Regions from separate parts of the Homo sapiens genome. Here regions 1, 2, 3, 4, 5 and 6 are each linked to region 7. The links are contacts of gene promoters, found by promoter capture Hi-C in blood cells and fetal thymus (Javierre and others, 2016). All regions are on one chromosome and are shown on one strand. The core of a region is centred on a gene start or on the middle of the fragment in contact, and the rest is flanking DNA. Distances in the headings are between cores, read along the strand shown.

Region 1 (3,701 bases), core at 1-2,500, 3.9 Mb after region 7:
TCATATTCTTATGCATTAGGAACTATACTCAACTCTGGAATGTTTGGAAAATATCTTCACTAAATCCTATCTCAAAGAGAAAGACACTACTGTTATTTGCAGCACTCCTAATACAGTGCTTCATATCAGCTCTCTTCTTGCATGGACACTACTGCTGACCATATGCCCAATCAATGAAGTGAAGAAAAAGCTTGAGATGTATGTATTTTTAGTTTCATATTTTATAAAAGCAACATTTAGTGGACATAATTGGTTGTATTCACATAGTAATGACTAACTATTTTTTAGGCATTTCCATAAGCTTCCAAGCCTCCTCTCTTGTGATGATGTAAACATGAGAATAGCTGCTGGTGAATCTTTGGCACTTCTCTTTGAATTGGCCAGAGGAATAGAGAGTGTAAGTATCTAACTGGCAGAGGAAAAAGCTTGTGTCACAAGGCCCATTGTTCCATCATTACCTTGCAATTGAGAATTGGGCAATAACTTTGGAACATGGCCAGCTTGAGAACCCAGTGATTTATTTCCCTACTTCTTGGCAGTGGTGGTGTAATACTTTAGAGAGCAGAAACCAGTAGGGGTTGGTACAGCAGTGTTTGACTGTGGTTCATTATACTTAATTTTTGCTATCTATAGAACTGAAGTTTAGGGATCCTCATGGAGAGAGTTTTGTCTAATATAATCTTTATGAAACTGCTTGAATTTCTCAGATACCCAATACATCAAGCTAATGAAGGCATGTGATGCTTCATAATTAATATCAAACAAATGAATAAAATATTAAGTCAGCATAGGTTTGGGATGAGATGGGTTCAGTAACTTCTCTAAGCCAAAGATGGAAATAAACACTGCTCATTAAGACTGGGACATGTGCTTTGCAGTTACCCATTCACTTGTCCACTCACAGATGTTAGTTACCATGGCTTGGCTCTCGAAGGGATTTGAGTTTGTGATAGTTTGATCAGTCGACCCAATTTGCTTTGTACCTGTTTTTGGTTTAGCACTTACCATCTTATGTTCCAGGAAATCCTTTATCTCGGGCAAACTGGGTCATTTGGTAACCCTAATTTGTCATCTCTATTTTAAGGATTGCTAAGAGAAAGGAATGCCTCAAATCTTACCATTGGAAGGGAGAATGTATTCTTAAGATATGTGATTCAGATACTGTGCTGATATTTAGAAATGAGGAGCAGGTTTGACTGTCTTCACACTGAATCTGTGAAGGATCCAATAAGAAAACTCAAATATATGGGAAATGGGTAACTAAATAGTAGATATTATTGCCAACCTTGAATTACTTACTAGATGCTTTTTAATTTAAGGAGAAAGAATATATTTTCATTCTGAAACTTTTTTGCATTTAAAGAAGTTATTTAACAGTGAACGGTTCCAAACAGGATTAATACAGTTCTGCCATGTATAGTCATTCATATTCCATTCTAGGCCTGTATTGAAGGAAGTTTACAGTCTTAAAATTTTTATGTGTAAAGTGGCTCTCTCCAACTCCCCTACACTCCTTTTGTTTGAGGGATAGTAGGTAGGAATGGAAAGTAAGTTAATGTTGTCAGTAGCTAATAATTCTCCTTATGTGAGAAATTGGACTCAAATTTAGCAATCAATTTAATTTTATTGAGCTAGTTAATAGCTTCTTAACCTCAACGCATGGAAACCAGATGTCCCAATTTTTAATCTTACATTCCTCTACTGGCCAGAAATGGCAGTTTCTTTTCTTTTTTTTCCTTGGAAATGCATTTTTAAAATGAAGTCATAATGCAGTTTAAATTATACATGTTGAATTTGTTTAAGTTTGTATAAACATATATATAGACACATACATACATGTATATACATATACATATATATACACATTTATATACACACACACACACACACACACACACACACACACACACACACCCCACGTATCTTTTCTCCAACTTAATAAATTACACAGGATAACCAGGAGAACTCATCCAGACATATTTCATTTGACTTGAATTTTTATCCAAGGACAAAAATGAACTGGGTTACAAAACAGAACCTAGTGTTTTTATTTGCTTTTTTTTTTTTTTTTTAAAATAAGCTTTTTATATGTGGGTGCTGGTTGGGGGATAGTTATAGGGTGTTCAAAAATTAAATCCAGGGCGTTAGTGAAATACATAGACAGATTTAAAATAGGGTTCATACAGCAAATGAGTTTTGAATTATTCAAGGCTTTTTGCTAACTGACTTTCTGATGTTACTAACTTTGAAATCTAGTGATGTCATGAATTCTGCCTGAGAGACTTAGAAAAAAAACTTTTGAAGAGCTAACTTTTAGGTTGGATTTTAATGAATGAGTTGGTTAAATAATAATAATAAACTGTGTTCAAAGTTGAAATTAGTAATTATTACTCCTTTATGAGAGTTCTAGGTTAATGGATGTTTGCCATATAACCAATTAGATAATAGTAGACTCTGGAGCTGTTCTGCCTACCTTCGGATCTCTTTCTCTCTTACTAGTTGGATAATATTGGGCAACTTCTCTATGCCTCGGTGTCCTTATCATTAAAATGGATAAATTATTAGTCACAACCTCATAGAGTTTTTGAGAACACATGATAGGTACAGTGTAAGTGTTAGCTGTTACTTGGAATGTTGGTTGAATTGAGTATTGCATTTGGCAGTAGTCTACTAGTGGCCTTTTAGGAACTGTAGAGTAACTTAATATAAGAGACATTATTTGGTGGGCAGAATTAAGATCTTGGGAGCCATTGCTGGTGCAATCCTCACTTGGGAAAATTTAACAAAATATAGTTAGACCTTTTCCAGGTCTCACCCATTCCATTCCCCAGCTGAGCGGACAGGGGAAGTGCTACAGCACAGCGAGAAAAAAGATAATCAAAGACCAAATATACTCCTTGGAGCCAAATCTGAAATCACCTAGATTTTATACTTCAGAAGCAGCAACTTAGCATTCTTCTTGTTTTTTTGCCCTTGTTTGTATAATAACTGACTCTGTGTAAAAATATCTCCATACCTTGACAAAGATATTCTGCCTTGATTAGCAGGAATTGAAATAAATAAGTCTTTTTAAAGACAGGGTCTCACTCTGTTGCCCAGGCTGGAGTGCAGTGGCAAGATCATACCTCACTGCAGCCTCAGAGTTCTGGCCTCAAGCAATCCTCCCTCCTCCTTCCAAAGTGTTGGGATTATAGATACAGAGCCACTGTGTCTGGCCTCAAGTTTTATTTTAATATTAGGCTTTTGTATGATTTTTATTTCTTAATACTTAGCTATCCAAGACCCAGCTTATTTTGTTTATAATGAGTGTTCCAGTGACTTCTGTATAGAAATAATAGCTTGGGGAATGGTTAGCTTTTGTGACCTTAAGCATCTCACCCTGTCTGCCTAAACTTTTCTGGAAATTTTCTTTGGTTTCATTTCATCCTAATTCCATTCAACTTTTGAAACCATTTAATTGGTAACTGTTATTTTGCTATGAAATAATTATCTTCAGCTGACCAGTTTGTTGTATTTATATTGTGTTAGATTCTGTTGTATTTATATTGTGTTAGGTTCAAACAGGCTGTTCATAACAGTAAGATCTATAACTTAATGGATGTTTATGTCCTGTGTTTTATATATTTCTAATAGTTCATTTCCCTATAAAAAACCTAGGAGATGTGGGTGGTAATAACTGTTATATAAGAGGAGCCTGAGAC
Region 2 (3,729 bases), core at 625-3,124, 4.2 Mb after region 7:
CATTCTGATCTTCTTCAAAAGACAGCCTGAGTTAGAGAATAACAGAAAAACATTACATTCCTTTTCAATCGGTTTGCCGTCACTAATGATTCAATGGACAATTATTCCAGAGGTAGATGAAAATGGACCATAGAGGAGTCAATATGCATATGGGAAAAGCTAACCAATCACTGCCAGAGTCTGATTATTTCATAAAACCTTACATACTATTCTAACCCTCCTCTCCACCATCATCTACATTTAATCCTCACCAAGTCCTGTCTACTATTCTTCCTAAACATTTTTTAAATGTTTCTACTTCTCGTCCCCAGGGTCACCATCCCAATTTTGGCCACCATCATGTTGAACATTTCCCTGTATCCACTCTTGCCCTCTCTAAGAAGTGTACTTTTTAAAACCAAAATTTAGCACTCCACTATGTAAAATGCTCCAATGGCGTCCCATCACCCTTAGCAATAAAGTCAAAACTCCTTACAGTGCCTTATAAGGCACTCCGTGTTGGGCCTGAATAACTCTCCTGCCTTATCTGTTACCAGTTTTCCTCTCACACTTTATTTTCCAACCTTACTGACCTTTCAATTACAAACTGCACAAATGCTATTCCCTTGCCAGGTACACTCCTTTTCCTCCTCCTGGCCCCACCCCAGTGCTCACACCTGGCTTATTCCAACTCTTCAGGTCTCAGATAAATCATTTTCTTAAGAGATTATCCCTGCCCCCTCCCCATTACATGACCCCCATACTTTCTCTGTTACATACCATCACTTATTTCATGTCTGCATTTCCCACTAGATCAAAAGGTCTCTGAGGGTTTGTCTTCAATACTGTACACCCAGTGACTAGCAAAAATCCGGCATCAAGAAGGTATTCAATAAATACTTGTTGAAAAATAAAGACTAATAAAGAAATAACTACATTTAACAACAATAGTCACCATTGGACACTTACTAATGCCTAAAGAGAATACAGAACTTAGCTATATCCCACAACTAATAACTAGTAGAACTAAGGGAGAGTCCATGAATGTTTGGTTTCTATTTCAGCTTTCCACCAGTCTTTACTTAATTCACCCAAATTCTTCCAAACCAATTCTCTCTCCATGTCCTACCTCTAGGGAATGGCTTGAGGCATACCGTATCACTTGCATTATCTTTCACTCAGAAACTCTGTCCCATCTAGAAGTGTCAAGGCTGAAAGAACTACACTGAAAAAACAGGGAATTTCAGTGCTTCAGTTCTGAATTACTGATAACTCTTTGAGCCATCTCATACGAGGAAAATGTCATCTAGAATATCAAACTCCTCAGCACTAGAGCAGCAACAGCAATTTCTCTCCCTTTCGGCCTCCTTCTAGCGAGATGTGGGAGGTCCGACAAGGAGCTTGGCTGTTCTCCACCATCCTCTGCCTCGGAGAACGCGACCACAACGTGGCGCCCAGTTGAGGGGGAACCCTTGCGAAATACGGAGAGGCGCTCCCACACCCTCCAATCTCCAACCACCACTGTCAACTCCTCCAGAGGCAGGTATCCTACCCCGGCCCTGGGAGGCCGACTGGGCGGAGCTTGGGGTCCGGACCACGCGGAGCCCTGGCAGTGTCTATGCCTAGATCTCGCCGCCCTGCCGTCCACCCATTTCTCCCTACCTGACTCGGCCGTCGCCACCAACGCGCTCTCCCAACCCTCGGAGTCAGTTCCAAAACCAAACCAAAAAGGAGGAGAGCAGACAAGGCTTCAGCCTGCGACTGAGAACAGGGAGGCGGCACGCCTTGGGGAACGAGGGCCCGAGGCCATACGCGCTAATACAGGCCAGTGTCGGCGTAAACTTTCTCCGTTACCGGCCCGGCCGCGACCGCCATGTTTCCGCCGCCGAAATCCGCGACGGTACGGAACGCCGCCGGGGTCAAACTGCGCGGCGCGCCTCCTTCCCGAGGCCCGGCCCCCTCCCCGCCCAAACCCGCGCGCCGCCACACACTCAGGTGAGCAAGGCGCTGCGCGAGTGTCAACTGCCCCACCTAAGGCGCCTGCCTTCCTCAAGCCAAAGTCGACTCCTGGGACCTGGAATCAGCAGCTGAGAACAGACAGCGGGAAGACCACCAAAGATCAGGCTGACAGTGCCCATCAAGCATCTAGGCCACCGCCTCGGGCTGGACCGAACGGGGACAGGGTGGACAGGACTGCCACGCGTGGGCTGTAAATACTGCGGGAGGCGTTGCTGCTCATTAATATATATGGCATAATATATGGCTTTGTAACCAGCTAAGGCCCAAGCTCCTTAGGCCCTCCCTCAGACCTTTCAGTTCCTCAAATGCAGGGACATGTCGGGTTTTGCTCAACATTAAATCACCTTAGCATAGTGCCTGACACATAGTTGGCACTTAAATATTTGTAAAATAATAATATGCAATAGGCTCTCCACGATCCGTAGTTCTCTCCTCCCACTTGTTTTGCATGTATTATCTATATATTTTTCCTATTTTCCATAATAGAGTGTGAATTTCCTAATTTTCATAATAGATGTTGGGGGTTGGTGTGGCCAGCACATCTATAGGAATGAACAACTCTCAGATTGAGATTCTGCATATGTGGATGAAAATTTTGAGTTAGATTCTCTCTAGACTCCTGATTTTAAAAGCAATCACAACTCAACTTCCCAAATCTGTAACTAGCTCTCTGGGGAACACGAGTGCCACATTTCCAACTACCTGCTAGATGTTTCTACTCAAATATATTGTCATCACTTCCAACTCAACTTGCCTTTAATGGACATTTATATACATTTATTATGCCCCCCATTTGAATCCCCTTCCGTATTTGGAGAATTCCCCACCTGAGTTAAGAGTCTAATGGCTGCCGCTGAAATGCTGAACACTTGTTTAACTAATCATGTGTACCCGCTGGAAGCCATGAGTCAAAAAAGGCACAGAAAGCTACACTCCCAGGTCACCTGTAGGAGTATAGCAAGTGTAGAGATCGAGAACCCATCCCTAACAGCAAGGTAAGCTTCCGAGGCAGTAGTGAGAGTGCTGGCATCCACCATTAACATGTCAGAGATGCAAGATGCCTGTGCTTGGTGAGGGTCACAACCCCAGAGCCCTTTCCCAATCTGTTCTGTAGCCTGTTAACAGTCTCTGTGTACATTTCTGGGTAGCCTGTGACAGACTCTGTACTACATAGCTGTGAGGCAGGACAATAGGGTCTGGAGGCAAGGAACTTACGGCTGATTCATGCTGACTTTCTAGAACTAAATCAAAAGGAAAGCCCCAACTTTCCACAGCTAAGTAACAAAGGGACCCGGCCCCCTCCCCCACCACCGCCCTTTTCTGCGTGGCAGACGGAAAATTGAAAGTACCTCGGATTGGTTGCTTTCCATAACTAATTAAATGTTTGCATAGGGTGTAACCTTTGTAACTTCGCTTCAGGCTCTGATTGGTTGCTTTCCGCTATCAGACTGATTGTGGGCCACTATATTTGCGTGGGGTGTACACCAAGTGGCCAATGGGAAACCTCTAGAGGGTGTTTATACCCCAGAAAATTCTATAACCCGGCCGCCCCGCTCTTGAGCCCCATGTTCCGGCTCTTCACACCCTGTGGAGTGTACTTTCATTTTCAATAAATCTCTGCTTTTGTTGCTTCATTCCTTCCTTGCTTTGTTTGTGCGTTTTGTCTAATTCCTTGTTCAAGATGCCAAGAACCTGGACACCTTCCACCGGTAACAGCCAAGGTAGATTCTG
Region 3 (3,381 bases), core at 29-2,528, 3.9 Mb after region 7:
TAACTTGAGACTAGAAGATACCTCCTTCGCCAAAAAAGACGAGGCTGTGGAAATCAAGCCAACAAATAAACAACCTTCAATCTATATATGTAGAGTCAAATTAACCCTATTATCATGTGGGTGGAGTCTGTTTTATTCCCTCAGTTTTTGGAATATAGCAAAGGTACCATTACTCACCCATCATGGCAACACTTGTTTAGAAGGAAAACTACCATTCATGAATCATTGACCTGAGCATAATGAAAGTTAGCCACCTGGGATACCGTTGACAGAAAAATGGATTCCTCCCGTTGAAAGATGTTTCGGTTAAAAAAAGTTCTGATGCCAATTAATAACAACAACAACAACAACAAGAACAGTAACAAACAACCCTATTAAGGACCATTAAGGGAAATGAAAACTCTTAATCTGGAAGCCAAAGATGGGTAAAGAACAAGAGAGTGAAAAAAGCCCAAAAAGCAGTCATACACAATAATAGTGGGCATAGAAGGAAGGAAATTCTCCAAATACAGTTTTAACAGGGTGTCCTTGGACAGAATTCTGTGGAGGCGGAATGAAGTGGGCAGGGCCCTATGTTCGTACATTGTATGTACAAAACAGCAGGTGACAAGAGTGAGGATTTCAAAGACATTTTCTTTCTTGGAACATATGGGACTTTTAAGGGAAGTAGGGGGATAGTTCGGGGATTATTTTTACTTATTTCTGAATGCATATAAGACTGTTAGAAATTGCCAAATGGTATCATCATTTTAAAGAGATTGTTAGATGTAACAGTATCAGTTGAGATGCTTTCAGCCCCAAGCCACAGAAATCTCAAGTTTAATTTTTTTAAAATATTAAAAGCATTTATTATAATCACATAAGTGGTCTAGGGGTAGGGGATGGTAGGTGGTGCCTGTTGGTTAATTCAGTGACTCAAAAACCTCATCTATGTTCTTTAACCCTTCTCTTTTGCTATTCTTGGTAGTTAGCTTTGTTTGCCTTTATGCTCACAAATGACAACATCCAGAAAAAGACAAGACCATCTGTTCATTTGTATTTCTCTTGGGAAGGAGAAATCTTTCCCTCAAGCCCTCAACTCTTACACCTCACTGGCTAGAGCTGTGTTCTGTGCCCAAGAATAAACCATTTATAAGAGGAATCAATTATAAGAGGAATCAATTAAAAGAGGAATCGATTATGACCCAACCCCTGGAGCTGGGGTCCAGCCTTCCCCTGAAGCACATGGCCCCTCGAAGGAGGTTGGATATCTGAACAAAATTGGGGTTCTGAGAATAAGCAAGAGAGTAAGATGGATCTGCGGCAGGAAATCAATGATGTCTGCAACAAATTAATTTCAAAAGCCATTTTTTTTTTTTTGAGATGCAGTCTTGCTCTGTCACCTAGGCTGGAGTGCAGTGGTGCAATCTCGGCTCACTGCAACCTCTGCCTCCTGGGTTCAAGAAATTCTCCTGCCTCAGCCTCCAGAGTAGCTGGGACTACAGGCGTTCGCCACCATGCCAAGCTAATTTTGTATTTTTAGTAGAGATGGGGTTTCCCAATGTTGGCTAGGCTAGTCTCGAACTCCTGACCTCAAGTGATCTGTCTGCCTTGGCCTCCCAAAATGCTGGGATTACAGGTGTGAGCCACGGCACTCGGTCACAAAAGCCTTTCTTGAATGGAATGAAAATATTTACTAAGTGTGTCTTATTTATATAAGGCTGATAAATCTTTTAGCAGTCTCAGCAGTTTGATAAATGGTTAGTTTTCTCTCTTGATTTTAATAAAACAATTAACATAATTATAATTTAAAGACTATTTTAAATAAATATTTAAATGTGATAAGCCTGGTACGGTCAATTCAGTTTGGCATAGGTTTTTAAAGTGTCTGTTCAGAATTCTTTTGGCTGGATTGGTTCACAATAAATATCAGTAATGATGAATGAAATTTGGCAGTTCACTCATTCTCCATAATTTAGAAAGGTGCTAACATGCCTCCAAAGTGTTAGAGAATCTGTTCCTACTTCCTACTGCCTTTCATCTGAGTGTAAAAGATAGGCTTTTAAAGTCCCACTTGCAAATGCCTGGACAGTTTTCTGGAACTCCAAGAGACACTAATCAAAAAAACAGAGGAGTGCTAAGGAGAAACTGTAAACTATCCTAGTTTGCAAGAAATAAAAACTGACTGGACCTAACTTGAGCATAAGAAACAATTTATTTTAAAAGTTCAGGCTGGGTGCAATGGCTCACCCCTGTAATCCCAGTACTTTGGGACGCCAAGGTGGGCGGACTGTGTGAGTCCAGGAGTTCCAGACCAGCCTTGGAAACATGGCAAAACCCCGTCTCTACAAAAAATACAAAAATTAGGCTAGGCAGGGTGGCTCACACCTGTAATCCCAACACTTTGGTGGGAGGCTGAGGAGGGTGGATCATGAGGTCAAGAGATTTGAGACCGTCCTGGCCAACATGGTGAAACCCTGTCTTTACGAAAAACACAAAAATTAGCTGGGCGTTCGTGGTGTGCGCCTGTAATCCCAGCTACTTGGGAGGCTGAGGCAGAAGAACTGCTTGAACCTGGGAGACGGAGGTTGCAGTGAGCCAACACCACGCCACTGCACTCCAGCCTGGGCAATAGAGTGAGATCCTGTCTTAAAAAAAACAAAAACAAAAACAAAAACAAAAATTAGCCGAGCATGGTGGTGCACACCTGTAGTCCCAGCGGCTTTGGAGGCTGTGGTGGGAGGGTTACCTGACCTCAGTGAGCTGTGATCGCACCACTACACTCCAGTCTGGGTGAGAGGCAAGACACCATCTCAGAAAAAAAAAAAAAGTTCAGGATGTTCCCTGGAAGCCTAAGGCAGGAATTCAATTGAGTCTCTGGTAGTTCTGCCTACCTGGAAGTGGAAGCTCATGACGAGATGGGAAGATCCATTTCTTGTCTCTGCTTCTCTCTACAGTCCTGTTTCATTCTCTCCTCTCTGCAAACTGTCTTTCTTGTTTTTTCATGTCTGTGGTGGGCAGATGATAGCTACTTTTTATTCTCTGCTCAGAAGACAGTCCAGAATCTTTGAGTGTCTCTCAGTTCTAATTCTGAATTCCAAGGAGAGAGAATCTGATTTACAAATAATGCTGAGCTCTCGTGCTAGACTAGGAACTTTATGAGGCCAAATACTCTATTTTCAGGCATCCCTTTGTCTCATGCTCTAGAACATGCTTAGTATATAGTGGACACCTGAGGAATGTTTGTTGAAGGAACTGAGACTTTTCCAAAAATGATGACTATCCAGTGTTGAAACTAGCGGCCCTGAAGAGTTGTGTGATTCCTAGCACTCGCAGAATTTAAGAAAAAAATGGATAAATATCTGCTTACTAATATTAATGGCTAACATGTACTGTTTCATA
Region 4 (3,420 bases), core at 749-3,248, 4.2 Mb after region 7:
CCACAGCGATATTAATACTGGGCCTGCTATCAACTTGCTAACCCAAGTAAAATCCAGTTGTGATGTTTCCTATTTCAAAGTTTGCTGAAAAAACAACAAAAAACAAAACAAAAAATCCCCAACTATTAATAAATTAGCAGAGCTTAAAGCTCTTTGTCACTTAATTTGGAATAGATGAAAGTATTTTCCTCAGAGCAGAGATATTCAATACTATTTGTGAGGCAGAATCAGCCCTTGAGGACTACGTCTAAAGCAGGCCAGGGCATGAACTAACTGAAAAGCGGGCTTTTCTGGGCCTGGTTCAACCTGACTACCCACAAGTATGCGAGATGCCTCAGGCCATGCATGACAGTATGCAGTTGCTGAATTATAAGATAAAATCTACCTTTCTCAGGGAAGGGAGATCAGTATGCTTTCTCTCTCTTTTTTTTAAACTTCTTATAATAAGCCTCAAAGTTACACAAGAACAAATCTTAGCTAACAGAGGAATTCTGTAACGGTCAATTTACTGGTAGCATACTTCAAAAAAATTATAAAGACATCATTCTAGAATGTAACTGCTAAACATTTACCTAAAATACAACTCTATTTTAGTGTTCTTAAAGTCTTCAAAAATTATTCCTAACAGTGAATGAAAATTTAGAAAAACTGCGAGAGATATATATATGTGTGTGTGTGTTTATCTTAGTGTTTTTACTTTTCTTAGAAAAATAAAAAGCTGATATAAGTATTAGTAAATGAACATCTAGAATTGATTTCCATAGCTATCTTTAAGAAATACTTAATGAATTTTAAATTACTTAAGAAAAATGCAAACTTTTTGAAAAGTGTTTCTATTAAGTAATAAATCCTTCATATAAACACACATAAAAAGCTTACTTCTAAAATTACTCTAACACTTTAAAATAACTAGGGATATATGCATGGCCACCAAAAATTAGCCCTGTTTTTTCCATTTGATCTGGGTAGAGTTTATTATCATAAGGATTATAGTAAGTTTCAGCAATCTCTGCTTTTAGATCTAAAATTCTATTTCTGTAAAGGCTATTTTAATTGACTAAAAGCTTTCTCTTGTGCTCTGAGTTGGAATACACAGAACGTTATACTTTACCTGAAACTGAAGTAGCCATAAAGGTTAAAAAGATGCTTTCTACGTTGTAATTAAAAAGTTATAGGTCAAGTAAATGATTTTATAAACTATATTCAATTAGTTTTAATGTTCAGTGCATCTTTTAGTCTTGTACATTCTAATGTTTTGAAATGGGTGACCCATGTTAACAAAAATATCCACTTAACCAGAACATGCCATTCCTTTATCATCATGGCTTTCACCCTTGGAGGCAACATGGTAGAGTGGGGGGAAAAATACACTTTAGGAATCAGGCAGATCTGGTCTTAAATCATGGTTCTATCACATAGTGGTATGACCACAGATAAGTTACATAACAACTTTCAATTTCCATTTCATCGTTTGAAAAATGAAGATAACAGAAGTGATGGTATCTATCTCAAAGGATTTCACATAAAGATTAACAATGTGTGTAAGGTACTAAGTACAGTAAGCTGATGCTTAAAATGTACCCAATAAATATTAGCTTGTCTTTCTACTAGAAGGCCACTGAGTTATTCAATATTTATTTGCAAAAAAGAAAAATTTCAAAAAAATATTTCTCCTTATGATAAAAACCTCAGTTACAAATCTGGCATGAAATCAATGAGATCATGCTAGTTTAAAATCATCTCTACCTTAACCTTTTTGTTTGTCTCTTTCTGGAGTTCTTATATTGGCAACTCTGCCTCTGTCCTTCCATACTACTTCTATTTATCTTTTTCTTTATCCTGAATGTTTCCACTTTATTTATGACTATTTTATTATTTATATATTCTTGGTTTAAAACATCTACACTTTTATGGAAAAAAAAATCATGTAATTAAATCTAAAATAACTATTTCTAATCTAAAATAAGAAAATTACCTTTTTTAATGATTTATTCAATGATTTCATCTATCTATCAGCTACTTAAGGATCCTCTACTATGTATTGGGCTCTGTTATAGGTCCTAAACAAGTAACAGTTGATAAAACAAAGCCCTTGACTTTCTCTCTATTAATAGTTGGAAAGACTGACAAATTTATATATGATATAAAGAGATCTCATTTCTCTCTTGGCAATAACTAAGAAGTTTTCTATTTCCCATAATGCATGCAAACCAAAGTTATTTTATGTTTTTTCAAATGCAAAAAAATCCCTACAGAATTTTGTACCTTAGAATAAAACTCAATGGTCATTTACAATTACCCCCTTATTTTACAGATGAGAAAATTGAAGCCAACAGAAGTTAACTAACTTGCCTAAAATAACACAGCTGTGGCAAATTAGGACCAGAACCAAGGTCTCCTGACCTAAGTGCTACTCCCACCATACTACATGATCTGCTGTTTAAAATTTTGGTGAGCTTTATAACATAAATAAAACTACAGATGTGAAGGACTACTGAAATCTGCATCCATAACATTTAAAAACTTAAAGATACTAGTCAAAGGAGTTTATCAGCTTCTGAAAAATATGTTTAGCAATTCTGAAAATATTTTAAGGGAAACTGTAAGTCTCAAAGCATTTTTTTCCTTCTAATCACTATAAGACGTAATTCCCAATCTTATCATTAGAGATTAAATTAGGCTAAACAGGTATGCTAGAGCAAAGAAAAACAAATTAGAGTCATATGCATAGTTCAGTAAACTAAGAATCCTGGAAATTTAACGACTGTGTGTGAAGTACAGATTTCTACATATACATGTGTATCTTTACAATAGTGAAACTGCCAAAGGTGAGTTTACCTGCTAGAGCCCACTCTCCTGTACCATGGGTGTGCCCACTGTAATACAAAATATACGTATCATGTCTGGGTCCATCCACTGTCCGAAGTTCGAGGAAAGCTTTTAGTTTGGAATGCAGAGTATCAAATGACAGTCCACTTGTGGAATAGTCACATCCATAGGTCTCAATCATATGATATGCAAAAAATCTTTGGATAGCATTGAGCATGCCAGTAGACCTCAAATTTAACTCCTGTACATGTTCTGGGGGAAGCAGTGTTGGCTGACCATCAGGACTGAAGTAGGAGAAAAAACAAGAAGTACTCATTCTATATCACATTCTCATCTGTCATTTGTAACTGATTATCTAAGAATCAGTTATAATATAGTTGCTGCTAAGTGGCAGGATTTTTGTAAAAAATCACCCTTTCTAAAATTCCTATAGTACTGAGAATTAAGCTTAGAAAATCAAAACCTGGTTTCTAAATATTATATTTACTATCATTAAAACAATAATCAAATTAAAAGCTGGGATAATGTCTCCAAATGTAGATAGTATTACTCTTTGTTCCTTATTCGTATTTTCTTACATGACAAATATTG
Region 5 (3,769 bases), core at 667-3,166, 3.9 Mb after region 7:
TTAAGAACTAACCTCTGTCCTTAATTCAGTCTCCTATTCCTAACCCGGGACCATGTTCTATCTAGTCAATTTGTCCCTTTCCAACTGCTAAAACATTTCTCAAATCCATCCCTTCCTCCCTATCCCTACTGTCTGTGCTCTACTTAAGCCCATAATTGTGTTTTGTCCACATGATCACAACAGACTTCCCACCGGTCTCGTAGACTCTGGGTTTGTCTCTTTCGAGTCCTCATTCCACAAGGCCATTAGAATAACCTTCTTAAAAATGTAAATCTATACCCTCCCTAGTAAAAAATCTTTAATAGTTCCCAAATCCTGCTTTGTAGGTTCTTTATAGCATGCTATTTCCACGATGTCTTTGTTCAGAGAGTCCCTTCTCTTTGGGATATTCTTTCTAATCCCTTCATTTCAACATCCCTCCTGCATGTATCCAGTCTTCTCAAACAGACCCTCTAAAATGTTTTTGGTTTTGCTTCCTCAAGGAGTCCTACCCTAATATTTTCAGGCACCAGATGGACTTTGGAGTCAGGTGAACTGGATTAGAATCTCAGTTCTGATTCTTAAAAGCTGTGTGGCCTGGGAAGGAAACTTAACCTCTTTCTCAGTTCCTTCCTCTCTGAAAATGAGGGTGATAACATTGACCCTATAGTGGTTGAAAGGAGATCACGTGTTTGTGAAACACTTAGCATAACTCCTGGTTCACAGTCAGCATTCCACTGGGCTGTAACCACCACGAGGGTAGAGACCATGTCTCTCTTTTTCATCCTTGAAACCTTAGTGCCTAGCAGTGTCTGGCAGACAGAAGGCTTTTTGAATAAATGAGTAAAGAAACAGTAGCTTTTAGGAATGTATTTATATACATATGTATTTCCTACAGTTTCCTCCTTATTAAAATTGCTTGGGGATAAGAAACCTCTAATTTTCCTAGGCTTTCTCTTATTTGCAAATGCATCTGTTTACTCCTCAAAGGTGGATTGTGGATTCTTCATGAAGAAGAATGATTTAACCTGGAAAGATTAGAGATGTCAGTTGACCAGGGAAAGCTTTTCTTAACTTATAGTGACCTTTGTGGAGGAATCCATTGCTTAGTGGACTCTGATGATGCAGCTCGTCCAGTCAAGGTCCACTCTCCTTGACTTTGCAGCTGCTGTCCTGGGGAAGGATGATGAGGGGGAGCTCAGTCAGCAGGTGAGACAGAAAGGGGGTCTTGCAGGAAAAGGAGGTGAATAGATTGTCCTTGTTCTTGCTTTACTCTCTACTCAAATTTGTCTGGTTTTTGTTTGTTTTGTTTTGTTTTCAGATGTAGGACAAAAGAGACATTTTGCTGGTAGTGGTGCAATTCTTTTTTTTTTTTTTTTTTTTTTTTTTGAGATGGAGATCGCAGTGGTGCGATCTCGGCTCACTGGAACCTCTGTCTACTGGGTTTAAGCTATTCTCCTGCCTCAGCCTCCCCAGTAGCTGGGATTATAGGCACCTGCCACCACGCCTGGCTAATTTTTTTGTATTTTTAGTAGAGACAGGGTTTCACCATGTTGGCCAGGCTGGTCTTGAACTCCTAACGTCAAGTGATCTGCCTGTCTTGGCCTCCCAAAGTGCTGGGATTACAGGCATGAGCCACTGCGCCTGGCCTGTGGTGGAATTCTTTACAGTCTGAATTTAGTGCAGGATCAGCTATGTGATTTGTGGAGCCCAGTGCAAAATGAAAATGCAGTGCAGGCCCCGTGTTTATAAATTCTTAATAATTTCAAGATGGCAATAGCAGAATATTAAACCAAGCACAGTGTCCTCTGCAACTGCACAGGCTGACAACCGAAGAAACTGCTCTAGTTTAGAGATTTGACAGACAAGAAAGTCTGTGTGTTCCTGACATTTTCTGCAGTGTTCAGCTCAATTCCTGACTTACGAAGTTTAGAAAAAGAAATACCCAGCCAGTAAGTCCTCTCTTCTTCATAAAGCTCTGCTATGTTCCCTGTGATTTACACCGTCTTGGTCTTTTGGTTTGTTTTGCCCAAGACCCTGAACGTCTTTGCATTATGGTTTCTCCAGGTTTAATTCTTTTTTTGTTGTTGTTTTTTTTTGAGACGGGGTCTTGACCTGTCACCCAGGCTGGAGTGAAATGGTGCTATCATAGCTCACTGAAACCTTGACCTCCTGGGCTCAAGTAATCCTTCTGCCTCAACCTCCCAAGTAGCTGAGACTACAGGTGTGTGACACCATTCCTGAATAATTTTTTAAAAGTTTTTTTGTAGGAATGGGGTCTTGCTTTGTTGCCCAGGCTGGTCTCAAACTCCGGGGCTCAAGTGATCCTCCCGCCTCAGCGTCCTAAAGTGCTGGGATTACAGGTGTGAGCCATTGCGCCACTGGGCTGTGCCACCACTCCGGGTTTAGTTTTTTTGTCTGCCTGCTCTCATCCTTTTTGTTAGAAATTTGAATGTGCACTACATTCTTTCATTCCTACATTCTTTCTTCTTTGCATTTGTTGTCCTTTAAACAGATTTTCCATCTTTAATTCATTTACATTTTTTTTAAACTGTCCTTCTACGGTCATTTTAGTTTTCTCTGGATGCCTTCCAATTTTCATTTTTTCCTCAGCAAATAAAGTGTTTAAAATGGAGTGTGGTGATCTAGGAGCCATGGATGTGAAGGCAGAGCTTAGGCTGCCTTGATCTTAGGAGACCCAGCTTATAACTGGATGGTTCGCTAACCCCCCAGCAACTGTTATGCTCTAAATTAGACCCACTCTTTTCTCATGGTTGGCTTCTGACCCAGTATACTTGGCATTTCCTTTTTCAAGCTTTTCCTACATCCATTTTGTATCAGCTTCCTAGGTGTAGTTTTACTTCCAATTATTTTAGCACTCACCTTTAGTTGAATCTTGATTGATTTTTGACTATTTATTTTCTTTGGCTCCATACCAACTTATTCTTTGGTCTTAATTTTTGACCTAAGAAAAGAAAGTCCACCCATATTGGGTCAGATATTTAGCCCAGGATTCTGCTTTTGGCAGTCAAGGATATTTTATGGATGAATATGGTGGTTTTCCATAGTTCATCTGAGTGATTAGAAATTAAAAACACATCATGGATCTATAGCATATGATATTAAATTCTTCCTCATAGCTGTTTATTTCTGTATTTTATTATAATTTTTGGCTTTCTGACTTCCCTCTCTTTCCCTTCTCTTCTCTATTGCCTCAGTCTGTAATTTCTAAAGCAGGTTTTGTGCCTTCAAGACTATTGCCTGGGATTGGGTAATCAAACTAAACAAAGCATTGGAAAATCTATATCTATAAAGAAACAGAATTGTTGTTTATTCCTTGTAAAAAAAAAAAAAAGCAAACTCAAAATCTACTAAAAGAATGGGAGTTGCTTCACAGACCTGTTGGAAGAGAAAAGACATCATTTCTGAGTTTGAATGACTGCCATAGATAGGTATGGATATGAATTTATCATGCTTAATATGAAAGGACAATTAAAACTGTGCCTGATGTCACCCATTTGTGTCTAGATCTTAATGTTCTCAACACTAAATGAACATAAAAATGGAAAAAGTCCTAACAATGATCTTCAGTTCAAATATACTGTTTATCTGGAAATGGTAACATTGCTGAAGTTTTTGGTACTGAAATTTACATTTTTTTCATTGATTAAAGATGTTTGAACAGCTCATTCTCTTAAAAGTAAGTTTTAAAAGTGATCTACATATGTAGTTAATGGCTAACAGCTAATGTATTCTAAATTCTAAAGTGGATTTAGAATAAAGAGCAGAG
Region 6 (3,810 bases), core at 186-2,685, 3.9 Mb after region 7:
GTCTAAAGGCAGTCTTATCCCCCTCACTGGTGTATAGTTCAATTCAGACTTGAATGCGAGGTATGGGTTTACATCTCATCTCTGCCACTTATAATCAGTGTATCCCTCAACAATTAAATTCCTTAGTCTCCATTTCCTTCCTCCTTCAGGGGAAGTTAATATTCCACAAAGTTAGAAGTTACAGGAGAGGAAAAGTAGTAAACGCCCCAAAATGAGGCAGTTACTTCTATTATATCTTCAAAGGATACATGGCTCAAGGCAGATCAGGTAGTTGGGAGATTTCTTAAAAACAGCATAATAGCTAACATGAACATTTTCATTATTCAGAGAAATTTGACATAGCTTTTTAACGTATGTTTCTGAGAAAAGTTACTAGTTATATTGTCTTCCTCCAAGAATTAGTCTTTGGGTACAGATGAGGCTTGAAAAAATGACATTCCCTCTTAGACTAGGTAGTGTGAAGGGAAAAAAAAAATGACATTCCTCTTCCCCCAAAGCAGAGTGAGGTCCGTATGGGATATAGGTGTAAAGAAAATTTTGGGCCGGGCATGGTGGCTCAAGTTTGTAATCCCAGCACTTTGGGAGGCCGAGGTGGGTGGATCACTTGAGGTCAGGAGTTCAAGACTAGCCTGACCAACATGGTGAAACCCCATCTCTACTAAAAATAAAGAAATTAGCCAGCTATGGTGGCACATACCTGTAATCCCAGCTACTTGGGAGGCTGAGGCAGGAGAATCTGGAAGCAGGAAGGTCTCAGTAGGCTGGGATCATGCCACTGCGCTCCAGCCTGGGCAACACAGCAAGACTCTGTCTCAAAGAAAATTTTGTGGAACACCTATTTTCTCACTGACATGAAAAATGTTTCAAAGATGAATAATGTCCATCAAGCTATGGCAATGGAAGTGAGGATGATAAAGGATTGCACAGTTGTTCACAACCTCACTGTTAGTATCCTGCTGAGATAGTTGGTCTCCTCATCACTGTAGCATCTTTTATGTACAGCAGAGGGCAGAAGCTCCTTGGCATGTATGTGAGGGAACCACATATATGGAAGGCTGTTATTCCTGAGAAAGGAGGATGTGCAGACACTCACAGAACAAAGCCTTTGTAAAGGAAAGGCGGCCGATGAGATGGAGTGCTTCCTTCACCTGTGGTGGGTCTGTATCCATGAAATCGCCCACTCACAATCGCTTTTTGTAGCTACTGGAAGCACTAGGCGTCTGACCTGCCATCATCCTTGTTATGATGTCATAATCATATTCTGTCCGTGTTTATTGCAGTTCTCTGGTTTGTCTGGAGTGTTTGCAAGTCAGTCATCATAGTGGCAGCTTCCGCCTGCTACAGGATATTTATATATGGAAGCATACCATGGCAGGAGTGCTGGAAAGGTGGTGTCAGCTAACAGTTGCTTCAGCCAGATAAGGACGGTAACTTCAGTCCAATAAAAACCTCATCAGTTACCAACTAAATCAGGGCATGGTGTTTTTTTGTTGTTTTCTTTTTAAAGCATAGTTTTAGTAATATATTTACTAAAAACCTTAGACATTATGAAAAAAGTCAGGATTTGGAATCTTACACTGCTTGGCTAAATTGACACAATATAGACCAACAGTTTCATCCTGGGGCTTATGGGTCTCATAGGAGCACCCGTATGCTGAAGAAAGGCAAAGAGAGAACTACAGAATTTGTAGAAAAGTTTTGTTGTAGTTGCTTCTGAACAATTAGTTTTTGTTTGTTTGTTTTGTTTTGTTTTGTTTTTCTGGTAACCTAGCAGTCAAAGCTCACATTTTTGTAAGTAATTTGCATGCTATTACTCTACTGAGACTGAATTATGATTCTCGAGTCTGGGAAGTTTTTGTTGCATGTGCTCTGTGTTTTTCATTTTTGATAGAAATGATTTAGACTTGATTTTAAAAATTACTTCCTGAATGTGAAGAGGCATTGACTGGGAAATGAAATTAAAGAACAAATTACCATGACTCATTCAATAACACTGCTTATTAGCTTTGAATTATGCCCTATTATAACAATTCTGATTTTGTGGCAAGCAATACTGGTGTGAGTTATTTCTGTGGTTTGATACCAAGCACCTGCCTGGTTAAAAAATAAAGCACCAGGCAATTTTTCATAGACAATTATCTTTATTTGTTGGAATATTTATTTGTAAATAGTCAAAGAATTCTTAAATGACAAAAAATCAACTGTTAGCAGTGATCTAAACCAGAGGAAAATGAAATTACTTACATGTTTCCAGTCAAGGTATAAGAAAGGGTTCTGTTAAAGGGATGCTGCTTTAGCCAATCTTGGTGAATAAGCAAATTTGCACACTGGAGTTGAAAGGAGGGTCAAGTTAGTGTGATGAAGAATTGCTAGTAACACTGGCTTCTCCAGCCTTGCTGGTTGTTCCTAGATGCCCTCATTTGGAGATGCCAAAGATAGCAACTACTGGGTGTCAAACAGCCGTGGGGCCTGGTTTTAAGGCCATGTGATCTTGTATCCCTTTACTAGCAGCCTCATGAGTCATTTGCAAGTCATTTGCAGGCTCTTGGAGCCCTGGAACAGCACCCAACTCAGTTTTCTCTGCTAGTTCTTTATTTTTCCATTTGCGTGTTGCAGCTCATTAAAAAAATATTGGAATAGCATATATTTACATTGTGACTTCACTCTAAAGAAGACATTTTCTTTCAAAGCACGTCATGGCTCACTAGGTTGTTGTCTTAGTTTTTTTTGGAGTCACCTTTTGAGTAGATAGCAAGACCAGTAATATGGAGATTTTATTAGCTGTACTCTTAAAGTCAGTTTTTGTGGCCATGATTTTCTAGCTAGGTCTCTATTTTGTAAACATTGATTAAGCCTCAGTATGAAATTGAAGCAACAGCAGATACATTCCTGAAGGGGAAGCTAAGGCTCAAGGCTATTAAGTCAGAGATCCAAAAATGAACCATGCTTCAGTTACCACACCTAAAATAGAAGCTGTGTGCAGAACAGTGGTCCTGTGATGTGACACATAAAACTTTTTTTCCTGGTCACATATTACTGTTTGGTCAAATATTAGTATAAATGGATGATAAAATATGAAACACATCTAAAAGAATTGTTTTAAAATCTGTGACTATGCATGAGTGAATATTTTGGGGCCTTGGTTTTAACTGCAAAAGGATAAGATTTGACTGACCTCTAAGGCCCTTTTACTCTATTTGCTGCTGCTTTTTAATTTTTTTTAATTGTCATATCAAGTCATTTCCTTAGGAATGCTCTATGAAGTATATTTGGAATTCAGTAATGTCAATAAAGTGCTATGGTAGTATCTTATCTGAAAACTCAGGGAATTGTTTGTTCTTGTTAATTAAAATTTCAAGATAAGTGAAACACACTTTTTTAGTTTTAACCCTAAAAAAAATTTTTAGTCCATGACTTTTTGAGCTCACTTTCTTAGCTAGGGTTCTGGTAGCACATTTTTCACAAGTACCAGTAGTTTTAGGTATTACTGGGAAATTGTTTTTTTAATATTTTAGACTAAGTTTAAATTGCTCAGTAAGTGTCTGATACTTTTTTTCCCCACATCTTCTTTAGGTGTATACTTTTTTTTTTTTTTTATGAATTTGGTTTCTCCCAACTCTATATTGCTCTTCATTCTGTAGATGAGTTTTAAAGGAAATTTTTGCAACAACAGAAAGTAAACAGTGTGTTGTCAAATACACACAGGCACCATATTTATCGCATTGACTTTACTAGAGTCCAGATAGACATCACATGAGGATTTTTATCCTCAATCTTATTTCTGTTCATGTACTTATTATTAACTGCCTC
Region 7 (3,355 bases), core at 658-3,157:
TTACACAAGAAAATTTTTTAAAAACCCTAGAAATAATACAACTTTTACTAAATTCACATTTTCAGTGAAAAAAATCTTTACAATTCACTTGCATTATTTTTTCCTTCCTAAAAAGTTACTGTAAGGTCCACAAAGTTTAGTTAAAAATTTCAGTGTGGGGTTATACCCCATCTCCAATATCAAAGGCCAAATAAATCTGGGAAATACGGGGTTAAATCAAGTTCAACATGATCTTTTGCTACAAACATTCTCAGAGATAGAGCCATTAGTACAGTAGTATTTCCCTATAAACTGAAAGTGGATTAGATTGTTTTCCTCCCCCAAACATCTCTTTGCATCTTGAGGCTGGGCTTCAAGGGAGACAATCCTGGAAATATTGCCATGGATTGTGAATTACTTGGGGTTATCAGTTTTTTTTTCTTTTGAGACGGAGTTTCGCTCTTGTTGCTCAGGCTGTGGTGCAATGGTGTGATCTCGGCTCACCTCAACCTCCACCTCCCAGGTTCAAGCGATTCACCTGCCTCAGCCTCCCGAGCAGCTGAGATCACAGGCATGCGCCGCCACGCGCAGCTAATTTTGTATTTTTAGTACAGACGGGGTTTCTCCATGTTGGTCAGGCTGGTCTCAGACTGCCGACCTCAGGTGATCTGCCCGCCTCAGCCTCCCAAAGTGCTGGGATTACAGGCGTGAGCCACCGCGCCTGGTGGGGTTATCAATTTTTTTTCCATTAATTAAAATACTGGAAAGCAGCCGAATCATTAATGAATAAGTCCTTCAGGTCTAAAGTAAAATGAGCACAAAACAACTGCTGAAAATCTGAACCAGGTTAGATCTAAATGAATTGTTTTTAAATACAAGAAAAAATGGAAATGCAGTATTTTAAATATGTTGCTTTTCATGTGTTATTAATCATGTGAGTACTATTAACATCTCCATGTTACAGATGAGATATGTGAGACACCAAAGCTTAAATACTTTCCAAGAGGTCATTAAGCTACAGAATAGTGGAACCAGGATCTAGCATTGAAGCCTGGACCCCTAATTATTATACGACACTGCTTGTCTGTACTTCTGAATAAAAATCAGTGCTTCAGTAGTTTGATGGAAATATATCGTGGCTCTAGTAATTCAGAGTAACAGAATAAAACCTTGTTCTCCGCAGAGTATCTACAGCCCTAAGCAGAAGACTAGTTTATAATTCTGGCTCTGACACTAAACTTTCAAGGTCGGTTACCTAATCATTCCGGGCCTCAGTTTCCTCAGGAGAAAAGTGGGATGAAATTATACCTATGCGACCTACCTCGCGGGGGGTGTAAATTAACTTTGCGTGCACCTTTCCACTTCGCAGGTTTCACGTATCTTAAATGGTGGTTAATGTTGTTCAATGAAATGAGATCACGTGAAGTGGGGAAAAGACTGAAAACCACAGAAGCCCGCGCAAACTTTACTGTTTTAACTGTTAACACCCAAACAGGCTCCTGGGCCTCGCCACCAGCCAGCAGTCCTCGCGCAAGAAGGGCATTGCTAGCTAAACTGAACTAGCGCCTTCCCTCCGTCTTGCCGCGGGCGACGGGCCACGTACGGAGAGCTGAGGACTCACTGGCAGAGCGGACAGGAGACACCCAAGCCCAAAGGCCACAGGTCCAAGGCCTCACGGCGAGGCTGACGCTTCTGCTCCAGAAACAACTTACGGATAAAAACTCAGCTTCCGGTCTTTATTGTTTCGTCCCCGGCGGTTCTTACAACAAATCGCTGCGCAATAGCGGGGCATGACTCGGGTGAGGCCCCTGGAGACCGGGGCCGGCGACGGATGCAGGGCGGCCCTCCTCACTGAGGATGCGCCACAGGTCCAGGCCTCTCGAGCCCCTGCGCCTGCGCTAGCATTCTGCCGGGAAAGCCGCCTCGTCTGTCGACTCACTTCCGCCTCCTCCGGTTTAAGCACCGCCTTTTCGGGGGTTGAAGCCGGAAGTGGCGCACAGCCCTAGCAGCAACAACAGTTTTCCACGTGCGCGTAGGGCGCCGGGATCACGTGGGGAGGCAGAAGCCAATGGGGAAGCGTTTCGTGTAGGTCTTCTGAGGTGGTGGCGCCAGCGGCTACCTCCTGCCTGTGAGGAGCTGGCTGAGAGGGGACTGGGCGCCGGCGGGGAAGGAGGAGCGCTAGGTCGGTGTACGACCGAGATTAGGGTGCGTGCCAGCTCCGGGAGGCCGCGGTGAGGGGCCGGGCCCAAGCTGCCGACCCGAGCCGATCGTCAGGGTCGCCAGCGCCTCAGCTCTGTGGAGGAGCAGCAGTAGTCGGAGGGTGCAGGTGAGGGACGAGGCCGGGGTCGTGGGGAGGGGAGTTCGGAGGGTCCCCGTAGCCCAGGCCTGTCTTTGTGAGCTGACTTGGCCTCGGTGTCCGCCACGGTCGCCGCAGGGACAATGGGCTGCATGTTTTTGGCCGAGAGAATGGAAGAACGGAGACAGCCGCATCACAGAATCGTGTTTTGGGTTGTGGCGCCGGCTTTCACGGGCGCCGGATTAGAGCCCGGGTCTCGGGCAGCTTCTGCGGCGGGGCCTGGGCGGGCAGGGAAAGTGCCAGTCGCCTTTAGGTGAAGGTTGGAGGGTCTAGCCCAGCCGCCCACCGAGGCTGGGGAATAAGGCACGGGCTGCTGGCTGGCGGGGCCGTCTTGGGGATGAGAAGTCTGTACAATACAAAACTAGTCTGCTAAAAAAAAATCATTAGATGTCCACCTTGAGACCGTGGAATAACGTCTGCTGAACCAGTGAGGCGCCTCCCTGTCAGTTTTAGATCCGCCCTTTGACTAGGGAGCAACCTGCAGTTGACGCAGCGTCCATGGGACACACTGTTGTGTTCCTTAAACCGAGAAGTGGTTCTTGATTCTTGGTACCCGTGACTACGAGTAACTCTCTGGAAATAAGTAATCTACCTGCCTGCTAATTACTCTCAGGAAAGGCCGCTGGAGAGGAAGCCAGGCAATTTCCACAAACCGTAGTGTTTTTCGTCAGCCTTATTATGGCATTATAGGTTACTAAGGACTCTGGTGGTCCCGTATTCAAAAAACAGGATCCATCCCTTCGTTTTGAATCTCAAGTCATTGAATACATATTGTCAAGAATTCTAAGTTAACATTTCTTTAATGGTTTAAAGGTAAAAGAAATATTTTAACTACTGAGTTTGTGAAAGTAAGAATCTGCCTTAACCACAGTACAAACTATCAAAGTTCATTTTTCTGGCAGCTTTAGCAGAAATCTTAAATTCTGTTCATCATGAGTTTTAAACAATATTTAGCCATGCTTCCTGGTTAAACATTTGGGATCTTACATTTGGGAAAAAGACAACATTCTATTGTATTGT

Evidence for each region. Contacts are between HindIII fragments. The CHiCAGO score rates a contact against its expected background, and 5 or more counts as called.
Region 1: a fragment that was not itself captured here is called in contact with the fragment with the promoter of THAP5 in region 7 in 11 of 17 cell types (total CD4 T cells, M2 macrophages, naive CD4 T cells and 8 more); the score reaches 25.2 in total CD4 T cells.
Region 2: a contact is called between the fragment with the promoter of TMEM168 here and the fragment with the promoter of THAP5 in region 7, in 9 of 17 cell types (naive CD8 T cells, total CD4 T cells, non-activated CD4 T cells and 6 more). The highest score is 34.9, in naive CD8 T cells.
Region 3: a contact is called between a fragment that was not itself captured here and the fragment with the promoter of THAP5 in region 7, in 9 of 17 cell types (fetal thymus, total CD4 T cells, non-activated CD4 T cells and 6 more). The highest score is 26.5, in fetal thymus.
Region 4: a fragment that was not itself captured here is called in contact with the fragment with the promoter of THAP5 in region 7 in 3 of 17 cell types (total CD4 T cells, activated CD4 T cells and fetal thymus); the score reaches 9.7 in total CD4 T cells.
Region 5: a contact is called between a fragment that was not itself captured here and the fragment with the promoter of THAP5 in region 7, in 3 of 17 cell types (M2 macrophages, M0 macrophages and activated CD4 T cells). The highest score is 17.9, in M2 macrophages.
Region 6: a contact is called between the fragment with the promoter of LSMEM1 here and the fragment with the promoter of THAP5 in region 7, in 8 of 17 cell types (total CD4 T cells, activated CD4 T cells, M2 macrophages and 5 more). The highest score is 17.8, in total CD4 T cells.

What each region holds. Positions count from the first base shown.
Region 1 is chr7:112,461,982-112,465,682 of GRCh38, forward strand. IFRD1 (interferon related developmental regulator 1) reads left to right here. Exons shown (of 12, transcript NM_001550.4): 7 at 20-198; 8 at 289-397. Among named protein-coding and RNA genes, the nearest start is that of IFRD1, 13 kb to the left of the region's middle. The HindIII fragment of the contact is 1,655 bases long and covers 424-2,078 here.
Region 2 is chr7:112,788,519-112,792,247 of GRCh38, forward strand. TMEM168 (transmembrane protein 168) reads right to left here and starts at 1,875. Exons shown (of 5, transcript NM_022484.6): 1 at 1,642-1,875. RefSeq lists an enhancer at 2,134-2,263. The HindIII fragment of the contact is 5,754 bases long and covers 1-2,996 here.
Region 3 is chr7:112,438,645-112,442,025 of GRCh38, forward strand. It overlaps LOC105375457 (a long non-coding RNA gene), which reads right to left. Exons shown (of 3, transcript XR_001745325.2): 2 at 2,874-3,069. It also overlaps a transcript of IFRD1 not described here. Among named protein-coding and RNA genes, the nearest start is that of IFRD1, 10 kb to the right of the region's middle. The HindIII fragment of the contact is 9,318 bases long and covers 1-3,381 here.
Region 4 is chr7:112,769,943-112,773,362 of GRCh38, forward strand. TMEM168 (transmembrane protein 168) reads right to left here. Exons shown (of 5, transcript NM_022484.6): 4 at 2,839-3,113. Among named protein-coding and RNA genes, the nearest start is that of TMEM168, 19 kb to the right of the region's middle. The HindIII fragment of the contact is 1,873 bases long and covers 1,063-2,935 here.
Region 5 is chr7:112,497,023-112,500,791 of GRCh38, forward strand. No RefSeq gene overlaps it. Among named protein-coding and RNA genes, the nearest start is that of LSMEM1, 18 kb to the left of the region's middle. The HindIII fragment of the contact is 1,751 bases long and covers 1,042-2,792 here.
Region 6 is chr7:112,479,556-112,483,365 of GRCh38, forward strand. LSMEM1 (leucine rich single-pass membrane protein 1) reads left to right here and starts at 1,436. Exons shown (of 4, transcript NM_182597.3): 1 at 1,436-1,791. The HindIII fragment of the contact is 7,612 bases long and covers 1-3,810 here.
Region 7 is chr7:108,567,799-108,571,153 of GRCh38, forward strand. THAP5 (THAP domain containing 5) reads right to left here and starts at 1,908. Exons shown (of 3, transcript NM_001130475.3): 1 at 1,692-1,908. The coding sequence starts at 1,771. DNAJB9 (DnaJ heat shock protein family (Hsp40) member B9) reads left to right here and starts at 2,076. Exons shown (of 3, transcript NM_012328.3): 1 at 2,076-2,305. RefSeq lists enhancers at 1,491-1,970, 1,504-2,231. The HindIII fragment of the contact is 6,219 bases long and covers 965-3,355 here.